Regions from separate parts of the Homo sapiens genome. Here region 2 is linked to region 1. The links are contacts of gene promoters, found by promoter capture Hi-C in blood cells and fetal thymus (Javierre and others, 2016). All regions are on one chromosome and are shown on one strand. Each heading gives the region's core, a stretch centred on a gene start or on the middle of the fragment in contact. The rest is flanking DNA. Distances are from core to core; before and after follow the strand shown. Region 1 holds the start of TEX12 (testis expressed 12). Region 2 has its middle 4.6 kb from the start of DIXDC1.

Region 1 (3,992 bases), core at 1,057-3,556:
AAGGGAATTAGCAAGGTGGCATTTTGTTTTTGTGTTTTGCCAGTACAGAGTTGATATAAAAACAGAGGGGTTCCTAGAGTCAGGGAACAAAATGCTTACATAAACACTACTTTTTGTTGGTTTGTTTGTTTTAAAAACAAGATAGGGTTTTCATTTCGGGAAGTCATAAAAACATCATGTCCTTCAACAGTGATTACAAAGGAAGTCTGTGGCAGGGTGGCTGGAAGTGCTTGGTGTGGTGACTATCAGAAGAAAAAAAATAGTACCTTTAAGAAGTATATGATAAGAATACATACGTGACTCAAGTTGAAATAGTAAGTTTTCACCTTCCAACTGTAGAGTCCAATTGGGCCAATTAACATGAAAGCACGAAGTGGGATCAAGTAGTGATCAGAAGCAGCACACTAAGCAAGCTCTAATTTTAAATATTCCATTGCCAGTGAATTTTCTCCAGCTGTAAAGATGCAGAATGTGTAATTTACACATTTTGAAGTTTTGGGACAAACACTTTTTTCTTTGATATAGAGCAACAAATGTCTCAGTGTCCTTTGTACTTCATAGAGTTGTTTTCAAAGATTAAATGAGATAATGATGACAGCCCTTTGAATATTTTAAAGCTCTAGATAACAATATCATCTCACTTATTCCTACCCATTTAGCTTATGCAATGGAAGTTAATATTTAAAAAATAAAAGAAAATAAAATGTCCATGGTGTTCTCTTAATCTGATGAAAGCATTTATGCATTAGGTGGAATCATTTTTCTTGGAAATATTTTAAGAATCAGATGGACAACCACCTGTTTAAATATCATACAGTGTGAAGGCTGTGAGATGAATTCCATGAGTATTTCCCAGACCCTTGGGTTTAATGAACCATTAAAAATAATAACAGCAACCATGATAATAAGGAGGAGGAGATAAACACAGTGGACAACTCTACATTTTACCAAGGAAGGACACTAAAAATGTAAGAATTTTTAATCTTTTTATTTCATAAAACTTATCTCACCTGTGCCCCCCAAATTAGGAAGGACATGGTATCAGAATAAAGCACAGTCACTTTAAAGTGAATATATTTGACTTGATGAAAACTTTATACTGCTGAAGAGTCTGAAACAATAAAGATAAAAATTAAGGCAAACTAAAACTTCATTCCTTTTCCCTTCATTTTACCACAGAGGGTAAAAATTCAACACAGATTGCTATTGTTCTGGGACAGTGTTTGAGACTCCTTACTTCGCCATAGTTATCTAGGCTAGTATTATGTGGCCTATATTTCACAATATTAGCAACTCAGATTAAACACATTGAGCGCTTATTTTCTAGGAACTTATTTAAAACAACCGGCTTCTTCACAAACAGCAAATAAATATACACACACAGAATACTTCCAAGACTTAATGATAACTAACATTTAATCAAGCAAAAGGAAAAAAAAAACCTTAGTAATGTATGTAAATGTTAAATATAGTTCTCTAAGATGTAAGATTTTGTACCTGGAGCTTATGGATGTGTGTTATTGACCTTTGTGTTATGAGGTAATTTGCTTTTTTTTTTCTTCCACATCCACTAACTGGGCGTAAGCTTGGAATGTATATCTTTGAAATTGCAGGTCAAAGCCTCCGCATTAAAGCACCCGATGAGGCAAAGCTACAATTATGTGAGCCATGTGTGTTATGCAACACTTTTTGATAGCTGTTGCCAATTAGACTTAACTTATTGACACACCCGGGGAAGAATTTTCTAAGAAGGCGTGATTCTGAACGTTTGGTTGCACCAAAGAGGAAGAGGGGGCAGTAACTGAGGCTCTGGATCTAAAAGCCTTGCTTGTGGGCCAGGGGAACACGTGATTAAAGCCTTCCTGCAAACAGAGCATCTGCAAACGCAGTTTTAAACCCTTCCTGCAAACAAACCAAGTAAATTTTACTCGAAAAGAGGCCGTGGATGTGCTATTTTGTGTTCCTTTGCTGAGATTCTAAGCTGCTGGGACACACACCGGCCTTGCTTTGGCAAGTCTTCCTTGTTCTTTCTTGACCAGTTTCAGATTTTTTCCTGGTTCAAACACACACAGGGTGGCAGGGAGAGATTTTTGTTTCACGAGTATTCCAAGTGGAGGGGAAAGAGCGGGAGAAAACCGGGAAAAAGCTGCCTTTCCGTGGGGCCTGGCTCTGGGAGGCTACGGTGGGGAAGTTGGGGGGGGTGGTGGTGGGAGAGCTGTCACGTGACTCGTGCAGGGGCTGCTGGGAGTGCGGCGCGCTTCCCACCTCCACCCCCGAAGTCCGAGCACCCCGCGCCCGGGGTCTTCACTCCCTCGCGTTCGCTGACGAGGAAGGTCCCCATACCGCGAAGTACATTGGCCTTGGGGTGGGGCTGGAGGGATGGGCGCCTGTGAGAATGTGACGGACTGTGACACAAGGAAGGGTGCGAGGATGGAAACTTCCTCTGAGGGGCTCTAGTGGGGCGGAAACAACAGTAGGGAGGAAGTGCGGAGGGGCGGCGGGAAGTGAGGGAAAATGGAGGTGAAATGGCCTGAGGGGCTAGGATCGCGTTGAGAAGAGGGAGAAGACTAGAAGGAGACAGCTGCATGGGGCAGAGGGGACAGTGCTTAGTAACAGCCAGGTCACTAAGCCTAAGATGGCAGAGCCAGGGCAGTGGTCAGTGTTTGGCACACGACGAAGACCAGCCCGTCCACCAGGCCTGGATCTGCTGAGGCCTTGAGCCATGACAGGAAAACGAACTTATTTTTGCAGAAACAGTTACTTGATTATAAGTTTTCGTTTGACATAGGTGCACAGTGTTACTTGGGGAGAGAAGAGAAGGGGGTGAAGGGGAAAGGGAAAATTAGAAGGGGAAGGGAAGAGAGAAAAATCTGCCTGTTGGCTTCTCTGAAGTATTTTCCAACTCCCAAGGCAAAGTTAGCACTGCTGTGCATGTGTAGTATTTTCTAGATACTATTAATACTATTACAGCACGTAAACTTACATACTATAAAGGTACTGGCAGGAATGGAGACGTACGATACAGAATTTACTTAACAAGCATCATTCAAATTTGTTGTTGCTCTTTCTGTCTTCTATATATGCATATTTTATAGGACTAATCAAACAGATGTGTTAAAGTTACCCAAATCAGCATCGTTTCTCAAAAACAACAAAGTCAATTGATAACTTGAATATGGACAGGGCTCCCCTCATCTCAAAGACACAGAGACTATACCCTTCCAGGTTTCAACATTTGGACTCCTAGGGAAAATCCCTTCCGAATTTATGGAAAAGTAAAAGTAAAATTTGAAGCTACTTTAAAGTAAGGTTGGACAGTGGGAATAACCTCAGACTCGAGTGAGATCTCGGTTCTAATTTAGCTCAGTCTTACTGGTGTCACTTGATCCACCGTCACTGTCCCTGTTTTCTCACTTGTAAAAAATGAGATTGAATTAGATGAACTGTAAGACCTGTTTAAACATTAAGATTTTGTGAAGATAGAAGAATCCTTTTTTTTTTTTTGAGGTGGAGTCTCGCTCTGTTGCCCAGGCTGGAGTGCAATGGCACAATCTCGGCTCACTGCAACCTCCCTCTCCTGGGTTCAAGCGATTCTCTCACCTCAGCTTCCCAAGTAGCTGGGATTACAGGCGCCTGCCACCACGCCTGGCTAATGTTTGGATTTTTAGTAGACACAGGGTTTCACCATGCTGGCCAGGCTGGTCTCGAACTCCCGACCTCAGGTGATCTTCCTGCCTCAGCTTCCCAAAGTGCTGGGATTACAGCCGTGAGCCAGCGCGCCCGGCCGAAGATAAAAGAATCTTAACTGAGCCAGTCCTGAAACAAGGCAGAATTGCCAGAGAGACTCATTTGGCTAAGTACATAGAGAGGAGTAGTTGAAAATGATGGGACTAGTAGGCTTGCACCAGATAATACAGGACCTTGAAGGCCATATCATGGAATTTCAACTTATTCTGGAACAATGAAAGTTTTTGAGTTAAAGGAATGCAGTA
Region 2 (3,992 bases), core at 670-3,169, 230 kb before region 1:
TCAGGCCAGGTGAGGTAGTGGCTTATGCCTGTAATCCCAGGACTTTGGGAGGCTGATGCCAGGATTGCTTGAGGCCAGGAGTTCAAGACCAGCCTGAGCAACATAGTGAGACCCTCCTTTCTTTCTTTCTTTCTTTCCTTTTTTTTTTTTTTTTTTTTTGAGATGGAGTTTCATTCTTATTGCCCAGGCTGGAGTTCAGTGGCACCATCTTGGCTCACTGCAACCTCCGCCTCCTGGGTTCAAGCGATTCTCCTGCCTCAGCCTCCCGAGCAGCTGGGATTACCGGTGCCCACCACCATGCCCAGCTAATTCCTGTATTTTTAGTAGAGATGGGGTTTTACCATGTTGATCAGGCTGGTCTCGAACTCCTGACCTCAAATGATCTACCTGCCTCGGCCTCCCAAAGTGCTGGGATTACAGGTGTGAGCCATCGTGACTGGCCGAGACCCCCCCTTTCTACAAAAAATTTAAAAATTTGCTGGGTGTGGTGGCATGTACCTGTAGTCCCAACTACTCAGGAGGCTGAATGAGGTGGGAGGATTGCTTGAGCCTGGGAGGTCGAGGCTGCAGTGAGCTGTGATTGTGCCTCTGCACTCTAGCCTGGGCAATAGAGTGAGACACTGTCTCAAAAAAAATTTTTTTAAAGACTGATGTCAGGCCAGGTGCGGTGGCTCACGCCTGTAATCCCAGCACTTTGGGAGGCTGAGGGGGGTGGATCACCTGAGGTCTGAGACCAGCCTGGCCAACATAGTGAAACCCCATCTTTACTAAAAAAACAAAAATTAGCTGGACGTGGTGGCGGACGCCTGTAATCCCAGCTGCTCGAGAGGCTGAGGCAGGAGAATCACTTGAACCCGGGAGGCAGAGGTTGCAGTCAGCTGAGATCGTGCCAATGCACTCCAGCCTGGGTGACAGATTGAGACTCCATCCCAAAATAAATAAATAAATAAATAATTAAAAAAAGACTACATCAAAGACTGTCAACATTTAAAATAATAAATTACCTCGTACAACAATTGTAGCGTCAGATTTTGTATACATCTTTCAGAAGGCAGCTGGACATCAGTTAGGAGTTAGGTCCTTGATAGAAATCAGGCTACCTGTTGCAATGAGACCTTGAATCTTGCAGAAAGATGATTTGATGTTAGTGTAATTACTGATGTGGAGCTCTGACACCTGATCAACTGATAGCCCAGAGGCATAGGGGTGCATTTTCAGTGCAGTCGTAGAGAAACTCAAGTGTCACTTCCAAAATATCCACCAGATGTCGCTAGTCTTAATATAATACTCACCCACAGGCTAGCTGGCAGATAACCTTTTTTTTTTTTTTTTTTTTTTGAGACAGAGTCTCACTCTGTTCCCAGGCTGGAGTGCAGTGGCACGATCTCAGCTCACTGCAACCTCTGCCTCCCGGGTTTGAGTGATTTTCCCACCTCAGCCTCCAGAGCAGCTGGGACTACAGGCGTAGGACACCACGCCTGGCTAATTTTTTTATTTTTTATTTTGGTAGAGATGGGGTTTCACCATGTTGGCCAGACTGGTCTCTCAACTCCTGACTTCAAGTGATCCTCCTGCCTCGGCCTCCCAAAGTGTTGGGATTACAGGCGTGAGCCACCACGCCTGGCCACTGGCAGATAACTTTTGAAATGTGAATTTTAAAACTTCATGTGAAAAAAGAAAAAAAATCCATAACCCAGGAATAGGTTAAAAAAATCATGTAGAAAATTAGCCGGGCGTGGTGGCGGACGCCTGTAGTCCCAGCTACTTGGGAGGCTGAGGCAGGAGAATGGCGTGAACCTGGGAGGTGGAGCTTGCAGTGAGCCGAGATCGCTCCACTGCACTCCAGCTTGGGCGACAGAAGCGAGACTCCGTCTCAAAAAAAAAAAAAAAAGAAAAAATCATGTAGAATATTTTCACATATCTGCTTTGGTGTGGTTTATATTAAGCACTAGCATCTGGTGATTACTTTGGCGACATCCTACTCTAGTCTTTCACCATTCTGTCTTTCTCCCTTCTTCTGCCCACTCAGTCTGTCACATTCATCATGTATACTCTTTCCTCACATACTAGTCATCGGATTCTCAGTTTTACTAGTCTTCCTTTTACTATTCTTCCCTCCAGTCTTGTTTCTTGCCCCATGTGTTATGTGTATATTTATGTGTAACTGTCAGTTATTCAAGTTTTTGCTAAAAGAATAAGACCTGGCATATAATGACTCATAAGAGGTGCTCAGTATCTATTTAATGGATGTTTAATGAAACAATGTATGAATGAATGAGAGGAAAATACAGGATACTAAAAATTATTTATATTTGGCTTGAGAATACAGTAAAAGAGATAAAGATTCACATTCCTAAATTACGTATAATTAAGTACTAAATGACACAGTATAGAACAAGCTAGACCATTTAGAGTTTTCTTTTGGTTTTTTTTTGAGACGGAGTTACGCTCTTGTTGCCCAGGCTGGTGTGCGATGGTGTGATCTCGGCTCACCTCAACCTCCACCTCCCAGGTTCAAGCGATTCTTCTGCCTCAGCCTCCAGATTAGCTGGGATTACAGGCATGCGCCACCATGCTCGGCTAATTCTGTATTTTTAGTAGGGAGGGGGTTTCTCCATGTTGGTCAGGCTGGTCTCGGACTCCTGACCTCAGGTGATCTGCCCGCCTTCCGCCTTGGCCTTCCAATATACTGGGATTACAGGCGTGAGCCACCGCTCCCGGACCTTTTCTCTTTTTTTGAGGCAGTGTCTCACTCTTGCCCAGGCTGAAGTGGAGTGGTGCAGTCACGGCTCACTGTAGCCTCAACCTCCCGGGCTCAAGCGATCCTCCCACCTCAGCCTCCTGAGTAGCTGGGACTATGGGCACATACCACCATGAGTGGCTAATTTTTGTATTTTTTTGTATTAATTTTGTAATTTTTTTGTGCCACTGCATTCTAGCTTGGGCAGCAGAGTGAGATGATCTTGTCTCTCTCTCTCTCAAAAAAAAAAAAAAAAAAAAGACATTATTCCAAGGGTCATTTAAAATATTTTTATTGACAATTGTAATTATTTGTTTATTCAAACTGCCTTTCTGTTTCTTTATAGTCATGAATTATTGGCCATAATAGTTGTGTTACATTTTATATAGATTTGAATTTCACACTTCTTATTTTTATGCAGAGAGAAGTCACAGGCAATATTTTCACCAAATGATGGTTTTATTTTAAGGCTCAAAGTCTTACTTAGGCTAACATCTTACTCTATTTATTAACAGACGTGATTAATGTTTCTCCCACTGGCTCATTCATTCCTTCAAGTAAAAATAGATTTACATTTTTGTAATGTAATCTTGCATTCTTATGTAATGTAATGTTGCATTCTTCATATGACAGTATTGCATAATGGTTAAGAACCTGGACTTTGGCTTCACCATTTAGTAGCTATTGGGTCTGTGACAAATTACTTCTCCAAACCTCTCTTTCTTTATATGTAAAAATCCTACTGTTTATGGTAATTGTGACAGTCAAATGAGCTAATACTAAGTGCTGAGTACAGGGTTTGGCACACAGTAAAAGCTCAATTTTGCTATTATTACTGTTATATATAGATATTTGGGTAGCTTTTAGTTTGTGGGGGAAATGTCTGCCATTATTGTCAAAATAATGCAGGACTGAGGAAGCCAGGTATAAGTTCAGAAATCAGGCAGCATGGCAGGGATATGCAGAAAGCAGTTTGCTGGGTTTCTTTGCCTCTGCTTCCAGGCAGAGTGAATGACAGCCCTGCAGCAGCAGAAGTGGTTCCAGCTACCCAGATGGCTTGCAGTTTTCCCACATACAAACACTATGGGATGCCTGATCATTGTCCCAGTTATTCCTAGTTCTTGTAGCTAGCCCTCATACTCTCCCAGCTCTTATGTTGATATTACAACATGGTGGGATCGGGAGGATGGAAGGAATACTAAATGTTAGTGTTGTTTGGAGCTAAAGCTCAGTTCTTCATCTGAGCCACTTT

What was found. Contacts are between HindIII fragments. The CHiCAGO score rates a contact against its expected background, and 5 or more counts as called.
Region 2: a fragment that was not itself captured here is called in contact with the fragment with the promoter of TEX12 in region 1 in 2 of 17 cell types (neutrophils and megakaryocytes); the score reaches 8.6 in neutrophils.

Annotation. Positions count from the first base shown.
Region 1 is chr11:112,165,066-112,169,057 of GRCh38, forward strand. It overlaps TEX12 (testis expressed 12), which reads left to right and starts at 2,307. Exons shown (of 5, transcript NM_031275.4): 1 at 2,307-2,422. TEX12-AS1 (TEX12 antisense RNA 1) reads right to left here and starts at 2,078. Exons shown (of 3, transcript XR_001748384.2): 1 at 1,998-2,078; 2 at 1,011-1,111; 3 at 297-454. The HindIII fragment of the contact is 2,594 bases long and covers 1,584-3,992 here.
Region 2 is chr11:111,930,712-111,934,703 of GRCh38, forward strand. It overlaps a transcript of DIXDC1 not described here. Among named protein-coding and RNA genes, the nearest start is that of DIXDC1, 4.6 kb to the right of the region's middle. The HindIII fragment of the contact is 7,539 bases long and covers 1-3,992 here.